Linked DNA regions of Homo sapiens: all the other regions are linked to region 1. Evidence: promoter capture Hi-C in 16 types of primary human blood cells and fetal thymus (Javierre and others, 2016). All regions are on one chromosome and are shown on one strand. Each heading gives the region's core, a stretch centred on a gene start or on the middle of the fragment in contact. The rest is flanking DNA. Distances are from core to core; before and after follow the strand shown.

Region 1 (2,700 bases), core at 1-2,500:
TCATGGCTTATTATAAAAATTTCTTTACTGTTTTAATTTGTAATTTTCCATTACTTTTTATTTAAATAATCTATATTTATCTTAATATTGTGTATTAATTTGCTTTCCTTTTTTGTTTTTCAATACCCTCTTGGTAAAACTAGTGTGTACTTTTACAATCGAAACATAGAGTGTTTAGAACAAGTTTAGGTCTCCACGATGATTTTGCCTCCACTGTTTTCTCCTGATAATTATTTGAAAGAAATACATTTCACCGATAGAATCTAATTCTCAGAGTGATTATAAATGCATTGGTAATGGATTGAGTTGTATTAGTAGTATGCCAGAATTAGATTTGTTTCCTCCATTATTTAAATGAAATCTTAAAGTATTATGAAAATAAATAAATTTTCTTAAAGCAATTCTGTCTGTTTACATATATCTGCATTTAAATATGTTTCTTTATTTTATGATATAGCATGTTACATAAAATTTAGTAAAATTTGGAGCAATTTATATTTTAGTGAGCTTTTGTTGACCACAGCACACAAATTTCTTGTCCTTTAAAAAATTCAAGAAATTTGTGCATAGTTGTGCTTAAGCATAACATAAAAGAATAAAAAAATTCTACAAAATCAAGATTAACAATGTTTCAGATAAACCTTATAATAATCCACACCTGGCTTCAGTACAGTTAACAAAGGATGGAACTAATAATTTGGTAATGCATGATTTTTGAAACAAATAATTCAGCTATGTCTGATTTTATAATATGTTTTTATCTAAACATATAAAATGAAAAACATTTAAAATGAAAATATACACAAAAACATAAAATGAAATAATATACTTTAAAACTGTAGCATTTCCTCTGTTGCCCAACTTAGAAGATTTATTTATATAAGGAGTGACTCTAAGTTTTGTTTTAAATATAGAAAGCCAGGCAAAAGAATATGTGTTTGTTAGTTTGTCTTTTTTTCTTAGAAAAACCTCTGTTAACACTCCCAGAAGTTCTACCATTGAAATCAGCATCTGCTAGTGATTTATAGCAAGCCAATAGTCTTGTATTTATCAACTATTTTATAGAATCTCATACTTACAAATATATCCTGTCGAGCAGTCCACCATGCTAAATTTGATCTCCTCTTTGTTATGATCCGTTTGAAATCAGGTTCTGAAATTTTGTGAGACACCCAGCATTTTATTTTTCCCAGAGTAAAAGGATTTTACTGTCTCTATAATTACCTTCGATGGCACTCTGGCCTCAGTATGAATGTTCTGTTTTTACACACACGTATCTATGCAAAGAGAGGTTTTGTTGAATATGGAAAGTAGTGCTGTAGGACTCCAGTGCATTACTGATAAAGAGGTTTTATCTAACATTATCAGACCATCTGAAGTGATCAGATGATTGGAAGCAGCAGCTTCATGAAATCTTCAAAGTAATACTCAAATCTTTTTCTCCAAAATAATTTTTCTAGTTTTAGAAAATGTATAGTCTAAAGTAAAATTCCCTTTTAAAAAAGACAGAGAACTGAGTACAAACACATAGGACATCACTGCAAACACATGTTAGCAAATGGTTGAGAACTATTAAAATCAATCTGTTTGTAATAGATTACTAGGGACTTTTAACAACTGAAGGATCTAAAAAAGTATCTTTTCTAGTTATACCTCTCTAGTTCCTTCAACTGGTCCTCTACAGCAGTTCTGGACTCCGTTGTTCTACAGTTTGTTAACATGCCTTCAAAATCTGAATTGAACACAGTGCTTAAGATAAGGTCTAATGAATACAGAATATGGTAAGATTGTGAATGCCCTTGTCCTGGATTTACTCCAATTGTGTGTGTGTGTGGGGAGGGGTGGGGGAGTTGGGGGGTTTGGGGGGAGAGAGAGAGAGAGAAACAGAGAGGTAGGAGTAAAGAAATGCTAGAATAAAACAGCAGTAAAGAAGATCAAAATGTGGTTGATGGAGTGTTTCTTAAAATATTTAGGGGCCCAATGAGATAGAAGATTAACCTTACTTGTCTTTTATAATTTTGAGATTCAAACCCAAGAAAATTGAATTTCTCAAACCTGAGAGATAAGTTTGGGACTAGAAAAGGAAAGGAAACTTTGGAAAGTCAGAAGCTGCGTAGATGTAGCAATAATGTAGGAAGTGAAGGGCAGGTTAGCCTCAGCTTGGGAGGATCTGGGTTGTTTGTGGATAGCACTCATTTTCTCTGGGTGCTAGGTGTGCGATTTCCTCCCCACTCAGGACATTTTGGATGCTGGATCTCTTCAGGAAATCTTCAGTGTCATAGTCAAGACTTTTCCTCACCCCAAATAATTCATTTTTTTGGGATTTGGAATGTTTGCTCTTTCTCATGGTGTGGATGCAAGGAGCTGGCAGGAAGATTCTGGAAGTAACACCCTGTGCGAGTGTCAGTTTCAAAGCTTGTTTAATGGAGTCAAACATGAGAATCTCCCTACAGAGTAAAACTTAAGTATCGACAGGGACTGAAAAACAAATAAATCATAGAGTGAAGAGTAACAGCACGAGTAGGTGGAAATTCCTGGAGGAATTCAAGAGCAATGTGTAGATATTTGTGGCAGATTTCTAAACATGGTTTTGTTTCTCTGAAAAAGTGTAGTTCAAGTTCAGTTTATGAAATCATAGCAATATAATGCTTTGTACGGCACATAGGTGGATCAGACTAATTCAGAGCTGTCAGGTTAGGG
Region 2 (2,700 bases), core at 26-2,525, 440 kb before region 1:
AAAAATACCATACCTGATGACTTGAATCACATTTTGACTTGTTTTGTCTGTTATAAATACACATTACACTTAAAGGCATTAAAATACTATTAATTCTGTAGCTTAGAGTTTTTCCAAATTTTTAAGCTTTGAAATGCTAGGGATTCTCTGTCCAATGTGATATTGCTATTACTAACATGGTTTCAACTGTGAGTTCTGCCCTCAACAATTTCAAATTAAAGAATCCTATGTGTGGAAGTAAGTTTAGGAAACATCTACTAATTCCTCATTATATAGACCAAAAAGACAAAGCACAGAATAATTATTTTCACAAGTTCAGAAACTAATTGGTCCAGTTAGAACTAGTAATGGGCGGTCTTTCTCTTAGTCTAGTACTTGCTCCACACTTCCAAGACACATCTCAACAAACCAATAAATAAAGCTGGATGCCTAAGTCCTTCTTATGTTGGATCAAATATTTGGATAAAAAATTTAAATGTAAAAAATAATGTTTCTTAACCAAGAAAATGTTAGGAAAAAACCACAGATAAATATTTTAGGTTGGAAAAGGCCCTTCTAATCCTAACACAAAACATAAACCTATGAAGACATGGATAAATTTGACTACATTAAAATTCAAAACTTTAGTGTGCCAGAAATGTCCCCCAACCAAAAAAAAAAAAGACAAAGAAAAAAAAGAAGAAAAAATGCATGCACTGTATATAAATAATACATTATCAACTCCTCTAATATGAACCCCAAGTTCTTAGAACAGTTTCTATCCATAGTAGGTGCTCAATAAATATTTGCTGAGGGCCAGGCACAGTGGTTCATGCCTATAATCCCAGCACTTTGGGAGGCCAAGGCAGGCGGATCACCTGAGGTCAGGAGTTCGAGACCAGCATTACCAACATGGTGAAACCCTGCCTCTACTAAAAATACAAAAATTAGCAGAGCATGGCGGCAGGAGCTTGTAATCCCAGCTACTTGGGAGGCTGAGGCAGGAGAATTGCTTGAATCTGGGAGGTGGAGGTTACAGTGAGCCTAGATTGTGCCATTGCACTCCAGCCTGGGTGACAAAAGTGAAACTCCATCTCAAAATAAATACAACAAATAAATAAATAAATATTTGTTGAATGAATAGTGATCACAATCAATAGTTAAAAAGACAGTAACTAAGTGGACAAAAGGGCTATGATGTAATTGTATAATTATACATATATACACACACATACATATATATTATATATACATACATATAATTATATGCATACATATATAGGTATATATATGTATATAGGTATATATATATTACATACTATACTATATACTAACATTATATATTATATATACTATATTATACAATATATAGGTGTATATATATATATAATCAGCACATGCAAAGATGAGCTTCTGCCCAAAAATGTAAATTCAAAGAATCTTTCATGATTCTACTGAAAGAGATTAAAAAATAATGACAACAGTTAAGTGTTCAAATGTGGGTACACTGATCCCTTTCACATACTGTTTGTGGATTTAACCATTATGAAAGTAGGTACTCTATGCAAGTGTTTTCATTGTAGTATTTTTGTAACAGTATAAAAAAACCAGAAACAACTCTTGTCAATAAGAGACTAGCTAATAAATTACAGTCATACAATGGTATATATGCAACTATTTCTACTGACCTGAAAGAAACAGCAATAGCAATAGCAATAATATACTTTTTACTGAAACATAGAAGGCATGTAACAAAATTTAGTGAAACACAGTAATATATGTTTAGGAAAAATCTGGAGTAAATTACAACATCTGATATACAGCAAGGGCCCTCAACTCCCAGGCTATACACGGATACCAGTCCGTGGCCTGTTAGGAACTGGGCTGCACAGCAGGAGGTGAGCAGCAGGCAAGTGAGCTCCACTTCCTGTCAGATCAGTAGCTGGGCATTAGTCTCATAAGAGCACGAATCCTACTATGATCTGAGCATGTGAGGGATCTAGGTTGCGCTCTCCTTATGAGAATCTGATGCCTGATGATCTGAGGTGGAACAGTTTCATTCTGAAACCACCCTGCCCTCCCCACTGCCTGCGGAAAAACTGTCTTCCACAAAACCAGTCCCTGGTATCAGAAGGGTTGTGGACTGCTGATATGCAGTTATTTCTTTTGAAGAGTAGGACTGCATCATATTTTTCTGTATTATTCAACTATTTTAAAACATGTAATCTAATAAAATCAAAATAAAATGTTTATACATATAAATATTTGCAATTTATTATTTACATTTCATTTGAAAAACCCCAGTTATAGTTAAAAAATAAGTCAGGAATTACTGAAGAGATTCTGTATATAAAAATATGTGTGGAAGGGAGAAATAGAGAACCAAAGTGTACTTCTACTACATGTTAGGTGCTGGGACATTTAGTCTCAATAATTGTAAGCTTATTCTCCTTACCCTCCTTTTAATAGATGAAGGTCAGAAACTCAGCTTAACTTACTTGGCTTAAGTCCACAGAACTGAAATGTGAACCCACCCTTCTGAGTGGCTGTCTTTTCAAGTTTCACTTCCGGTGCAAAAAAAAAAAAAAAGTCAAATTTTGAACATGTTGATTTTTGTGGAACTTCACACTTCAAATTACTCCTGCCCAAGAGTTTTTCTTATTTCTTTTCTTAAAAGGACTAGTAATTATTACGGAGCCAACTAACTTTTCAAAAGTCTCT
Region 3 (2,700 bases), core at 30-2,529, 460 kb before region 1:
CCTGGGAGGCGCAGGTTGCTGAGATCCCACCACTGCACTCCAGCCTGGGGGACACAGTGAGACTTTGTCTCAAAAAAAAGAAATGTACAATGTTTTGGTTTTTTTGTTTGTTTGTTTGTTTGTTTTGAGACAGAGTCCACTTACTGTGTTCCTCAGGCTGGAGAATCACTGGAACCACCTCCCTGGTTCAAGTGATTCTCCTGCCTCAGCCTTCTGAGTAGCTGGGATTACAGGGATGTGCCACCATGCCTGGCAACTTTTGTGTTTTTAGTAGAGATGGAGTTTCACCATTTTGGCCAGGCTGGTCTCGAACTCCTTACCTCAAGTGATCTGCCTGCTTCAGCCTCCCACAGTGCTGGGATTACAGGTATGAGCCACTGTACCCGGCTGAAAAAGGAGTATAATGGAGATTAAATATCTGGACTGTAGAGCCAGATTTGCCTGGGTCTAATCCCAGCTCTTCCACCTATTAGCTGAGAACCATGAACAAATTGTTGATCTTCCTCTGCACCTCACTTTCCTCAACTGTGAAGTGGGGACAATAATAGGACCTACCTCAGGATTGTAGTGAGGTTTAAATAACACAGTGAAGATAAATTGTTGAGAATAGTACCTGGCACACAGAAATGGTTGCTGTATATGAATTGGCTACAATTATTATTTATTGTTATTGCTCTATGCCAGGCACTTTTTGTTATATCTTTTTTCTAATAACATTGCTTTGAAATGAAAAATATCCTCAATCTGCAGATGAGAAAAAATAGATGATGCTTAGTTTGAGCCCAGAATCATGAGAGACCAAAATCCATACCCTTTCCATTATATCTTAATTTATTTCCAAATGGTAATGTCTAGAATTAAAATGATTTTTTGTGGTTTTATTTCAGGAAACAATTTCTGATAATTGTGTGGTGATTTTCTCAAAAACATCCTGTTCTTACTGTACAATGGCAAAAAAGCTTTTCCATGACATGAATGTTAACTATAAAGTGGTGGAACTGGACCTGCTTGAATATGGAAACCAGTTCCAAGATGCTCTTTACAAAATGACTGGTGAAAGAACTGTGAGTATATCCTCTGTGGTGCTGTTCCTCTTTAATAGGTTGTAAACTAGATCACCCAGAGCCTAGAACCTTGTGTTAGGAAAATGAGCCAGACATTCTCTGAGGATAGATAAAGCAGCTGCAGATCTAGGAACCAGATTCTTAGAATAGGAAACAGCAGAGTTGATTTATTTTATTTTTATTCTGTGTGTGTGTTTTGACTGGGGTTGATGAGTAGTGTTATTATGAGTGCTTGTCTATGGATCTTTGAGTTCCTCTTGGAGCTCTTGGCAAGATGAAAGTATTCTTCCTCCCTTTACCTGGGCAATACAGGGGTTGGTCTTCAATTACTTTTCTAATAGGAGTGCTTTAGTGCTCCATGTTTTTAGATTCTTGAAATTTGGATTTTTCCATAATATGCATAATCAGAAAAATGTACAGTGTTGCCACTTTCAAGTTTATTGAAAGTTTATAGTGCACTCTTTCCCTTCAGTAAACAAATGTAAGAAATAACTAAATATTACTGTTTATCTGCTTTAGTTTATTTAAAGCTTTAGTAATCAGGAAGAAAGGTTTTAGAATCAGATTGTTTGGATTTGAATCCCAGTCTGTCATGTACCATCATTGTGATTTTGTGCAAGTTCCTGTGCCTCATTTTCCTCCAAAACAGGGCTAAAAATAATACCTACCTTAAAGGGTAAAGATTTTAAGATTTAATTTGTGAAAGAGCTTTGTGGTGCCAGGCTCATAAAAGTACCCAGAGTTCAAATGTCTCGTTATTATGTGAAATGATCTTAGTTCTGATACTAGAGTAAAGCCTAATTCTTCTTTTGTTTGTCCAACAGGTTCCAAGAATATTTGTCAATGGTACTTTTATTGGAGGTGCAACTGACACTCATAGGCTTCACAAAGAAGGAAAATTGCTCCCACTAGTTCATCAGTGTTATTTAAAAAAAAGTAAGAGGAAAGAATTTCAGTGATGTTTATACTAATAAGTTTGCTAGTACAGTGTCAGTTATTTAAAGTGGTAATGCCCGATAATGTCTTTTAAATGTTTGAGGATGTTTTAAATACATGCATTGTCTTCACGAAGAAGATGTAAAAATAATGAACAATAAATTGCGGTGGAAACCTCTTCTTCCCACTTGCCAATTCTTGAGAAAAAGGGATGGTATTAAAAAAATGAAAGGTTGGAGTTGTATCAAGATAAGAATGTATTTTATTAGGAATTTAGATATGAATTTTACAACCAAGAGCTAGAAGGTAAGCATTTGGAATTCTTTATTTCCTATTCAGGAGTTAACTCTTTATCTCACATAGTTTTTAAGTGGTAAGGACTGATATTTGATTTCTCTTTAAAATTTAAGGCTTTTGCTGATACACTTGTGAACTAGGCAGGAATATCTTATACGATATTGTGAAAAGCCTTCACACTTTGTACTTGTAGAGTAATAGAAGTATATTAAATTTTTAGCATGGAATGAAATTTATCTTAGAGAAACTAAATTACTCATTTAATGACTTAATAGTTCATTAAGTCATTAATGACTTAATAGTTCATTTGTCATTAAAACTATACCTATGGGCAGAAATTAAAAGGAGAAGATTTCGGCATTGTATGAGGATGAACTTTTGAAACAGTGTAGAAATGTACTTT
Region 4 (2,700 bases), core at 195-2,694, 400 kb before region 1:
AACTCTTCATCAGTGCTTTATACTTGTCCTTGTATAGATCTTGCACTTCTTTGGTAAAATTGATTCTTAGGTATTTTAGATTATTATTTTTTTTTTGAGACATAGTCTCACTAGGTCACCCAGGCTGGAATGTAGTGGCACGATCTTGGCTCATCTCCACCTTGCCTCCCAGGTTCAAGCTATTCTTGTGCCTCAGCCTCCTGAGTAGCTGGGATTACAGGCATGTGCCACCATGCCAGGCTAATTTTTGTATTTTTAGTAGAGATAGGATTTTGCCATGTTGGCCAGGTTGGTCTCAAACTTGAGGCCAGGTTGGCCTCAAGTGATCTGCCCGCCTTGGGCTCCCAAAGTACTGGGATTACAGGCTTGAGCCACTGCACCTGGCCTACTTTATATTCTTTGTAGCTCTTTTAAATAGGATTTTTTTCTTAATTTCTTTTTCAGATTCACTGTTGGCATATATAATAGCAGCTGATTTTTGTATGCTGATTTTATATTCTTCAACTTTTTTGTTTTTGAGACAGGGTCTTGCTCTGTCTGGAGTGAAGTAGCACAATCATAGCTCACTATAACCTTGTGCTCCTGGGCTCAAGCAATCCTCCTGCCTCAGCCTCCCGAGTAGCTAAGACTACAAGTGTGCACTAGCACAGGTGGCTAATTTTTAGAATTTTCTGTAGAGACAGGGTCTCATTATGTTGACCAGCTGGTCTTAAACTCCTGGGCTCAAGCATTCCTCCTGCCTCAGCCTCCCAAAGTGCTGAGATTACAGGTGTGAGCTACTGTGCTTGGTTATATCCTGCAACTTTACTGAACTCGTTTATCAGTTCCAAGAGTTTTTTGGTGGTCTTTAGGTTTTTCTAAGATTATGTCAGCTATGAACAGTGCTAATTTTATTTCTTCCTTTCCAGTTTGGATGCCTTTTATTTCCTTCTCTTGCCTGGTTGCTCTAGGCAGGACTTGCAATATTACGTTGAATAAAATGGTAAAAATGATCATCCTTGTCTTGTTCCTGATCTTAGAGGAAAGACTGTGGTTTTTTTTTTTTTTTTTGAGATGAAGTCTCACTCTGTCGCCCAGGCTGGAGTGCAGTGGCGCGATCTCGGCTCACTGCAAGCTCCGCCTCCCGGTTCACGCCATTCTCCTGCCTCAGCCTCCCGAGTAGCTGGGACTACAGGCGTCCGCCACCATGCCCAGCTAATTTTTTGTATTTTTAGTGGAGACAGGGTTTCACCGTGTTAGCCAGGATGGTCTTGATCTCCTGACCTCGTAATCTGCCCGCCTCGGCCTCCCAAAGTGCTGTGATTACAGGCGTGAGCCACGGTGCCCGGCCTAAGACTTTAACTTTTTTTAAATTCAGTATGATATTAGCTGTGAGTCTGTTTTATGTGGCTGTTATTGTGTTGAGGTATGTACCTTCCATATCCAGTGTATTGAGGGTTTTTGTCATAAAGGCATGTTAAATTTTATCAAATGCTTTTTCAGCATCTGTTGAAATAATTAGGTAGTTTTTTTCTTGGTATCACATTTATTGATTAGCACATATTGAACCATCTTGCATCCCTGGATGACTCTTACTTAATCAAGGTAAATGACCTTTTTTTTTTTTTTTTTTTTAATACTTTAAGTTCTAGGGTACATGTGCACAACGTGCAGGTTTGGTTTGTTACATATGTATACATGTGCCATGTTGGTGTGCTGCACCCATTAGGTAAATAATCTTTTTAATGTGGTATTATTTAATTTGGTTTGTTACTTTTGAATTTGGTTTGTTACTATTTGGTTGAAGATTTTTGCATCTATTATCATCAGTGATACTGGTCTGTAGTTTTTTTGTTGTGTCCTTGCCTGGTTTTGGTATCAGAATAATGCTGATTTTGTAGAATGGGTTGGAAAGCATTCCTTCTTCTTCAATTTTTTTGAAGAGTTTGAGTAAAATTAGCATTCATTCTTCTTTAAATGTTGAGTAGAATTTAGTAATGAAGTTGTCACATCCTGGGCTTTGCTTTACTTTTAATTATGGCTCTGATCTCATTACTTGTTATTAGATTCTTTAGATTTTTTTATTCCTTCCTGGTTCAGTCTTGGTAGGTTGTATGTATCTAGGAATTTGTCCATTTCTAGGTTTTCCAATTTTTTTGTATATAGCTGTTCATAATAGTTTCTAATGATTCTTTGTATTACTGTGATTTCAGATGTTATGTGTCCTTTTTTGTTTCTGATTTTATTTATTTGGATCGTCTTTCTTTTTTCTTAGCCTGGGTAAAGGTTTGTCAATTTTGTTTACCTTTCCTGAAGATTTTTCATTTCCTTGATCTTAATATTGTTTTTTTAAGTCTCGATTTCATTGATTTCTGCTCTGATCTTTATTATTTCTTTCCTTCTAATAATTTTGGGTTTGGTTTGTTCCTGCTTTTCTAGTTCCTTGGGGTATATAATTAGGTGGTTTATTTGGAGTCTTTCTACTTTTTTGATATTTTCGCTATGAATTTCCCTCTTAGTATGCTTTTGCCATATCTCATAGATTTTGGTATGCTGTATTTCCATTTTTATTTGTTTCAATGCATTTTAAATTTTTTTCTTATTTTCTTTATTGGCCTATTCATCATTTAGTAACATGTTGTTTAATCTCTATGTGTTTGTGTAGTTTCCAAGGTTTCTATTATTGATTTCTAGTTTTATTCCATTGTGGTCTGAAGAGAA
Region 5 (2,700 bases), core at 89-2,588, 340 kb before region 1:
GCCCTAGATCATAAAAGGTCAGAAGGCCGTCTTATTCTCAATATGCATTTTATTACTCAATCCGCTCCTGACATTAAATAAAACTCCAAAAATTAGATTCCGGCCCTCAAACCCCACAACAGGACTTAATTAACTTTGCCTTCAAAGTGTACAATAATAGAGAAGAGGCAGCCAAGCGACAACACAAACCCCTTTGACTGTAATTTTCCACTACCTACCCAAATCCTATAAAATGGCCCCACCCCTATCTCCCTTCGCTGACTCTCTTTTCAGACTCAGCCTGCCTGCAAGCGGGTGATTAAAAACCTTTATTGTTCACACAAAGCCTGTTTGGTGGTCTCTTCACACGGAAGCGCATGACAATATCCTCCTGCACATGCTCCTGAAAAAAAATACATCACACAAAAACAAGCATTGTTGCCTTGTTGTCAACACTGATAGACTCCTCAACTTGGACTGCATACCACAGTGACTCAATAATCCTCTCTAACTGTGGTGCCTCAATATCCTCTGCTGTTTCATCGTTCATCTAGATATGGTGCTGGCCCAAAGAGGAACATGTGCCACCTTTTGAACTGCAGCCTCTCCTAAAAGTTAATGGCAAACGTCCTTAGCAGCAGGCAGGATCAACTCTTCACCAATAGTAAAGGATTTCTTTGCTTTAGTAGTGCCGTTAGCCACTGAGAATGATGCTCTCAGTGCAGACACATTTGATGAAGTGGTGGCCTTCAATAATTGCTACCGTTCTTCATGTTCACATTATTTTTCTTTTGAAAGATGCAAAAGTTTTGTCTTTTAATGCAGGGTGCTTGGTCTGCATGTGGTGAAGAAGTTTTGAAGGTTTCATGGCTTCTTTGGGTAGCCAGTCACCACATATATAAAGCCAGCTTGGAGAATGTGAATCACCTGTTGGAATGAACCTGTAATTTAAGTCTCGGTATCTTCTTTTAAATGCAACTTTTTGTTGGCAGTCTTAGAGTCTTCTGCTGTCTCATCACTGGGTCTTTTCCCCTTTTCCAAGAAGCTCTCCAGTGATATTTGTTTTTTACTCACTGTGGCTAGGGTTAGCTCGTGGGCTTACCAAAACTGTGACTGAGACAAGTGTGCAGTGTGGGAAAGAGGCATGAATGGAAGTGGTAAATAAAATAATGGGCGGGCCATAAGCGGAATAAAATGCGTCTGATTCTGACTTAAAGCCTGACATTAAATGCAGCTGTACAATTGAAATACATCAACTCACTCGTCACTGTAAAGCCTGCCACCAGATGCAGCTTAATTTGTCACTTGCCACTCACTGATAGGGTTTTGATATGAGCCTGAAAGCAGTTGATTTATTATGGTCTCTGTGCAGCCAAACCTCGCTGCTAAGGTTAATCTGTATTTGCAGCTGCTCCCAGTGCTAGCATCAGCACTTCAGCTCCACTTCAGATCGTCAGGCATTAGATTATCACAAGGAGCATGCAACCTAGATCTCTTGCATACGCGGTTCACAATAGGGTTCGTGCTCCTATGAGAATCTAATGCCTGCTGCTGATCTGACAGGAGGTAGAATTCAGCAGGTAATGCTTGCTCACCTCTTGCTGTGCTGCCCGGTTGCTAACAGGCCACAGACCCTGGTACCAGTCTGTGGCCCAGGAGGTTGGGGACCCCTGTAAATTCATCATAAAAGGTGTCCCAAGTATTCATTGAAATGTAAATAAAGCTAGATGCTAAGTTTGTCTAAACTTGAAGGATATAACTCTAACCTAGGCTTTTGATTCTTTCTATTTTAAATTCTGCTAACCAGTCTTCTTTTCCTACATGCTGTCAAATTTTAAAATCAATGAGCCCCTTATTCATAAACACTTAAAAAAATATTGATTTTTTTCAGGAGAATCTTGGAAGTGCCCAGCGAATTAGGGGGTGTGAATGAGATTAATTTGCATCATAGTAAGCAGCTCAGAACCTATTTTTGGGTTCCCCTTTCCCTTTTTTAAATTAACTTAAAATGATAAGTGGAGAGTATTTCTTCACCTGTCCTATGATATATTTTTTTCTTCTTTTTCTTTCCCTTCTTATCTCACTTGCCTTCGTTTCAATACTCTTTATCTTTGCCAACAACTCCAGAGCCTGTCCCAACTCCCAAGCCCAAACACACTCCCTTAGGGCTGAGAGTGAGAATTTGTGAAAGACTGGGGAAGGGGAATGTCAAAGGTGAAACAATTTGGCACCCACCTCCGTTGGGTGCATGAGCATTCCTCTTGTTGCTGGAGAGAAAAAAATAGATTTTTTGAAGAGTGAGAGTATTTTTGCAGCACACTAGCTGCTAAGTGTTTGCCAAAGTCTCCCAGTAGTTATCAATATTGTTCATAACATGTGCAGTTTTAGGCGTATTGTGCCTATCTCTGAGGAATTCAGTAGTATTCCAACATTGTCTCATTTTTATCATTTTAAATATTTTTAAAATCTCTATTTGACTTATAGGATAGGAGAAAAATAGTTTTTAACTATACTGTATGAATGGAGAGCACAGAGAAAGGTGCATTTATATCAGTTTCCGAAAGTTATGTAGGTAAATGTTAAGCTAAGTTTATTTTATTATTTCTTAAATATTTTTGGATTTTATATTATCTCAGAGGAGTCAATAACTTCCATTTGCTACTGCAGAAGATAAAACACTACCTCCTGTCTCAACACAACATAATTGAATGATCCTTTTTG

The links. The method cuts DNA at HindIII sites, captures the fragments that hold promoters and counts their contacts. A CHiCAGO score of 5 or more calls a contact.
Region 2: a contact is called between a fragment that was not itself captured here and the fragment with the promoter of RGS13 in region 1, in 1 of 17 cell types (neutrophils). The highest score is 6.9, in neutrophils.
Region 3: a contact is called between a fragment that was not itself captured here and the fragment with the promoter of RGS13 in region 1, in 1 of 17 cell types (neutrophils). The highest score is 5.6, in neutrophils.
Region 4: a fragment that was not itself captured here is called in contact with the fragment with the promoter of RGS13 in region 1 in 1 of 17 cell types (neutrophils); the score reaches 5.4 in neutrophils.
Region 5: a fragment that was not itself captured here is called in contact with the fragment with the promoter of RGS13 in region 1 in 1 of 17 cell types (non-activated CD4 T cells); the score reaches 5.8 in non-activated CD4 T cells.

What each region holds. Positions count from the first base shown.
Region 1 is chr1:192,634,697-192,637,396 of GRCh38, reverse strand. It overlaps RGS13 (regulator of G protein signaling 13), which reads right to left and starts at 1,250. Exons shown (of 7, transcript NM_002927.5): 1 at 1,080-1,250. The HindIII fragment of the contact is 2,675 bases long and covers 1-2,417 here.
Region 2 is chr1:193,070,397-193,073,096 of GRCh38, reverse strand. All of the region lies in intron 2 of RO60 (Ro60, Y RNA binding protein), which reads right to left. Among named protein-coding and RNA genes, the nearest start is that of RO60, 12 kb to the right of the region's middle. The HindIII fragment of the contact is 2,294 bases long and covers 129-2,422 here.
Region 3 is chr1:193,095,948-193,098,647 of GRCh38, reverse strand. It overlaps GLRX2 (glutaredoxin 2), which reads left to right. Exons shown (of 4, transcript NM_197962.3): 3 at 888-1,064; 4 at 1,889-2,178. The coding sequence ends at 2,023. Among named protein-coding and RNA genes, the nearest start is that of GLRX2, 8.1 kb to the left of the region's middle. The HindIII fragment of the contact is 635 bases long and covers 962-1,596 here.
Region 4 is chr1:193,036,805-193,039,504 of GRCh38, reverse strand. The region is part of intron 3 of UCHL5 (ubiquitin C-terminal hydrolase L5); the gene reads left to right. Among named protein-coding and RNA genes, the nearest start is that of UCHL5, 21 kb to the left of the region's middle. The HindIII fragment of the contact is 4,210 bases long and covers 1-2,700 here.
Region 5 is chr1:192,976,179-192,978,878 of GRCh38, reverse strand. No RefSeq gene overlaps it. Among named protein-coding and RNA genes, the nearest start is that of RGS2-AS1, 29 kb to the right of the region's middle. The HindIII fragment of the contact is 5,377 bases long and covers 1-2,700 here.